2 separate regions of the Homo sapiens genome follow, and region 2 is linked to region 1. The links are contacts of gene promoters, found by promoter capture Hi-C in human tissues and cell types (Jung and others, 2019). All regions are on one chromosome and are shown on one strand. The core of a region is centred on a gene start or on the middle of the fragment in contact, and the rest is flanking DNA. Distances in the headings are between cores, read along the strand shown.

Region 1 (2,817 bases), core at 108-2,607:
TAATTTTAGCACCTATAACCGTCTAGCACGTTAACTTTTTTTTTTTTTTTGGTTGGTCTTCTATACTAGATTGTAAGCTCTGTGAGAGAAACAGGGCCTTGCCCACTACTGAATTTTGTTTGTAGAACTGGTACAGAATAGGTACTCAATATGTATTTCCCTTTTATTCATTCATCATAAATGACTGTCTAATTGAACTTTTGTGAGCCTCTCCAGAGTCATCCAAATGGAAGATGAGGCCTGTCTGCTTGAGGAAGAACTTTCTCAAGCCTACTAAATTCCAAGCTTTCTAAAATCTTCATTGATGCCTCAGGCCACACCGAGCAGGTTCTAACTCCCCACTAAGAATGACTATAATGGGCCTGGCACATGCCCTGTAACCCACACCTGTAATCCTAGCAATTTGGGAGGCTGAGGTGGGCGGACTGCCTGAGCTTAGGAGTTCGAGACCATCCTAAGCAACATGGCTAGAACCAGTCTCCGCTAAAAGTACAAAAAATTAGCCAGGTGTGGTGGGGGCGCCTGTAATCCCAGCTACTCATGAGGCTGAGGCACGAGAATTCCTGGAACCCGGGAGGCAGAGGTTGCAGTGAGCCAAGATGGCACCACTGCACTCCAGCCTCGGTGACAGACCGAGACTCCATCTCCAAAAAAAAAAAAAAAAAAAAAAAAAGAGAATGACTATAATTTATTCACTACTAATTATGTACCATACGTTATTTAATCCTCACAATCCTCTGCAAAGTCCGCATTATTTCTCTCATTTTACAGATGAAACAAGCTCAGGCAGACTGACTTGCTCAAAATCATACAGGTAGCGAGGTGCCGGGGAGGATGGGTGGGTCCCCGGGAAAAACTGTGCCAGGCCCCAAAGCTCATATTAATCCCACACCCACGTTTCCGCCACTCTCATCCCTATATCCCTCCTCCCACGTTTCCACCACATCCCCTAAAGGTCTTTTCCCACGTTTTCGCTACATCCCCACCCCAGCCCTTTTCCTCCCTTTGGACCGCTGGGTCCGCTCAAGCCTGGCTGCCCCTCGAAGGATAGTGTGGGGAGGGGCTTCAGATGCGTGCTGGGTGGAGGGTGGGCTAATCCGTCTCCAGCACCAGATACTCTTTCCTTCCCGGGCCCTCCGCACCGGCCGGCTGCTGGATGCCCAGTGGCCTATTTCAGGGCCGGAGAGACCGCTATCGCTGGAGGAAAAAGGATGGGGGAAGGGAGTGCAGCCTGCAGAGGCACTAGCGGTAGACAGACGGGCGGCGCTCCCCACCCTCCACGGCTACTTCCCGGGAGCAGTCAGCCGCTGCGCGCAGGCGCGGTGCGCTCCTCAGCCCCTCCCTTCTGCGGGCCGCCCTTTCACCCTGGCAACCGCGGCGTGACTACGGCGCGCGCGGTCTGGGCGCGGACGGGTGGGGCCGGGCGGTGCCGGTGCGGGCTGGGGCAGTGCAGTGAGTAGCGGTCTTGGGGTGTGCGATCTCGCTGAGCCTCCTCACACGGTTCGTCGTCTCGGGTTCGAGCCCAGTGGGCTTAGCCACTCGCCATGGACTCCCAGAAAGTAAGCGGGGGAGGGGAGCCCGGGGCTACCGAGACAAGCCGGGCCGGCACAGGGTGGGCGGGGCGCCTGGGCCCGTGGGCTGTGGGTGCGCGGGGTGGGCCTGGCCGGGCGTCCGGGCTGCTGCTGCGGAGGGCAAGGCCGCCCGGCCGCTCTCTGGGCGGGAGCTAAGAGGCGCCCACACGGATGCGGGGACCGCGCCCGGTGACTCGGGCTGGCCTCTGCTCTGCGCGCTGTCCGGGGCCCTGACTCTGGAGGAGAAACGGAGCCATCCCCCTTTTAAAATCAGCCACTCTGCAGCGCTTTAGGCCGGTTTTCATGCCTGCAGACTGCGAGCGTGCTGGTGGGGGTGTATCCCTCCTCAGCAGGTGAGGAAACCGAGGCACAGCCTTTTTGGTGTCTCCCTGCTGACGCCGAAAGCTGGGGCTTTCTCCTCGACCAAGTCTCGTCTCAGCACCACGCTCTTTAGGTCAGGGACCGAATCTCCTTTGTACCGCCCACCGCTCCCCTTCCCATGACTTTTCCTAAGTAGATCTTAGTGTTTAGTGTTCGTTGAATGGAGGGAAAAGACTTCAATTGTTAGGGCAGCCTTCCCACTCTCTGACCAGTTGGTGTTGCTGGGCACAGTTACTTAGGGGTCGTTGTGGAATGTTTTATACTTTCCGAACAGTTGAGGAAAGGTTATATAATCGTAAAGGTTCAATTCAGAAGTATTTGGAGAACAAAGCCAATGTCTTGAATACAGTTAGAAGTGAATTATTCAGTCATAATCTCCATATGAAAATAACCACCCTGTTCTCTTTGTTAGACTATAACGTAATTGAAATATAGTACAGGGTAGGAAAGAAAAAACAAGGAGTATTAATAATGTAGCAGGGAAAACAAAGACATATCTAAGAGACTATTCTTTTCTATTATTAGAAAGCACGGGAAAGACTTAGAACAACGTTTTCTACAATTTTGTCTACATTCACCTTCTTGAGGATCACTTCACTGAGGGCATGAGAGAATAATGATGTGTTGAGCATTGACTATTACAGTATTTAACAAATATGCATATGATTTCATTGTATGTGTTGGTCTTGAAACTCACCTTGGAATGCATGACTATTCTTAAGGCATTTTTTAAAAATTAGATTTTGTGTATTTTGAGTATGTATAGGTTTAAAATATTGTCTCTGCCTAAATTTGTAAAACATCTCTCAGCTTATTAGATAAAAGAAATGATATTTGAATGGACATTAGCAGAGGTCAAGTGAAG
Region 2 (2,817 bases), core at 123-2,622, 490 kb before region 1:
TTAAAAGTTAGATTTATTTCATTCACAACTAAATTTAGTTTTATTTTTATTAATAAAACATAACAGATTTGGGCAAGACTTCGAATATAATGCATTTGCAGATAAAAATCTATGTTTATAGCTTGTGAGGGCCCTGATTCTATCACAACTTGAAAGTTGAGAAAACATGAGGCTCTAACCCATATGTTGCACCCCCTGGGTTGCTATGCCACTATATCCATCACTGTGTTTATGTGGTGTTTCCCTCGGTGTCCTTTGGTGCTCCCGTGTTTAATACTGGTGATAAGCACAAAGGCAGAGCCCAAACCTCAGACATATACAAGAGGTTGATGCAAATGATTTAATAATTGGTAGGAAAAGCAAGGTGACATACTAGAAAGAAATTACACCAAGATAGCAGCAGCCAAACAGCAGCTGTCCTATTCCAGTGTGGATGCACAATAAATACGACCTAGTAAGATGAGAAAGGCCAGCAGCAGCCTATATTATATTATTATACCCCACCCTGACCCCCAATATGTAATGTCAGTTCCATAGTTTATGGAATGAAACCAAATAAGCCCACATTCCCAACCACCACCACCCCCCTTTTTTTTTAATTAAAAGCAATAATTGTGAAGGGAAAGTGAAGGTAAAATTTTGCTCTTGTAACGTTCATTTTGTTTCTTTTTTGAGATGGAGTTTTGCTCTTGTTGCGTGGGCTGGAGCATAGTGGCGCAACCTCAGCTTACTGTAACCTCTGCCTCCTGGGTTCAAGCAATTCTCCTGCCTCAGCTTCCTGAGTAGCTGGGACTACAGGCATGTACGTACCACCATGGCTGGCCAATTTTTGTATTTTTAGTAGAGATGGGGTTTCACCATGTTGACCAGGCTGGTCTCAAACTCCTGACTTCAGGTGATCCGCCCGCCTTGGCTTCCCAAAGTGCTAGGATTACAGGCGTGAGCCACCACACCTGGCCTTCATATTTTTATTTAATGTGCTCTAGATCATGAAGATAAGAGCAGAAAGAGTGTTGGAAATTAAAACAACTAACTCCTGCTGCACCTTGAGCTGGTCTGCCTGCCTCAATGAAGCAGGCAGTTGAATTTGTGTGTGCATCCAAACAAACCCACATGCATTGGTTTTCCCTTGCATGCCTTGCAATTTCATGTTTCAAGAATTTTATATTCCTTTATGTAGGAAGCTGACAATCACAAAGGAGTGTCCTTAGAGTTTTTTCTAATTTTTATGTGCCTAACTATGCTTCATCCCACTCCCTTTTTATCTTCTCTCTTTCAGAAAAATTCTAATTGGACACCATGGAGTGAGTTTTCCTCTCTAGTTCAGATTATATTTACAAAATTGCTAGAAAAACACCAACATTGCCTCACCCCCAGACAAAATATTACAAAGCAATCTCCTCTGTACAGCCAAATTACTGTCATGATCACACAGGAAACAAATGCAAAGTTACCCTCTCTTCTTCTCAAATTCTTAAGCAATTGAGGGCAAGGACCAAGAGAAAGAAAAACAAAAGTTGCTTTGATTGGGAAAAATATTTTGAGAAGTATTACGATGTGAGGTGTCTGACATAGTAAATTTTACTTAACCAGAATATTCAGGGAATGGGGCTCTAGTATTTGTTTTTGCTTGTTTACTTGCTTTTGTTTTAAATTCCCTAATGTAAAAGATGCTGTGTTACTACATGATTCCATTTTCATGTTATTCTGGAAAAGGCAAAGCTAAAGAGTCAGAGGATAGATCAGTGGTTTCCAGGGTTTAAAGGTGAGAGGAAGCGTTGACTACAAAGAGACAGCACAAGGGTGCTTTTTCGGGTGTGGAGCAATTCCGCATTTTAATTTTGGTGGTGATTCCATGAGTGTATGTATGTTTCAAAGCACGTGGAAATACACAGTAAAAAGAGTGAATTTTTCTGTAATAAAATTAAAAATAAACAACTGCAGTAAAATATTAAGTTGTGTGATGAAGAAGGAAGACTACTGAATCGCGATTTAAGTGACCTAAGGTGACTCCTGCTAGCTACATCCCCCTTTCTAGCACTAAAGACAAACGTACTTTTGCTTTTATTCTTATTACTAGAAATCTTTCTAATTTTACTTTAGGATATGCGCCTACCATAGGAAGTAGAACATTCAAGACGAAAACATCAACTGTCCTTGGTGTTTCAGTCTTCGGGACCTCTTTGTCACATTCTGGGATACAGAAGGTAACTACCAGCATGGGACCTCCCCATCTGAATGCTCACCCTTCCCTGTCCTTCCCTGGTGCTTTCCACCTCCACAAGCTATCATATTTTATAGATTTACCAAAGTCTTAATGCATTTAATTATTTACACATTTTATTGTACGCAAAATTAACAATTACATTCTTAGATGCACTGAATGAGTTCAACAATCAAGCACTTGAGAGAGCAACATACGGTTCTGTGATTGGATTTAGCAACACAGAGACATTTATACTGAATTGTCCTCCTGCCCATATTCTCTGCAACTCTCAGCTCTGCCTGTTTCCTGTAAACAGCTTTTATGCTAGAGCAGGCATCTCCAACAGTGAATCAAGAGAAATCCTTCTATCAGACAGTCATGCATTGTTAACTATCATGCACTGAGGTGTTCTTTGTTAGAAAAATATTTCTTGTATGCTTTTACAGGTTCATGAATGATATATCCTCAGCATTTCTATATAATTAGTCCCAGGGTATTTTTACATATCTCATTCCCAATTCGTCTTCCATTTCATCAGTGTTCTCTGTCTTTAGACTTGGTCTCCTCAAGTCTCCGTTCTGTTTCACTAGCTTGTCTTGTATGATTTTTTA

The links. The method cuts DNA at HindIII sites, captures the fragments that hold promoters and counts their contacts. A contact is called where the count stands out against the background at its distance.
Region 2: a fragment that was not itself captured here is called in contact with the fragment with the promoter of FSD1L in region 1 in 1 of the 25 tissues and cell types used here (spleen).

What each region holds. Positions count from the first base shown.
Region 1 is chr9:105,446,677-105,449,493 of GRCh38, forward strand. It overlaps FSD1L (fibronectin type III and SPRY domain containing 1 like), which reads left to right and starts at 1,358. Exons shown (of 14, transcript NM_001145313.3): 1 at 1,358-1,559. The coding sequence starts at 1,545. RefSeq lists a silencer at 1,239-1,848. The HindIII fragment of the contact is 8,259 bases long and covers 1-2,817 here.
Region 2 is chr9:104,957,524-104,960,340 of GRCh38, forward strand. No RefSeq gene overlaps it. Among named protein-coding and RNA genes, the nearest start is that of ABCA1, 31 kb to the left of the region's middle. The HindIII fragment of the contact is 8,350 bases long and covers 1-2,817 here.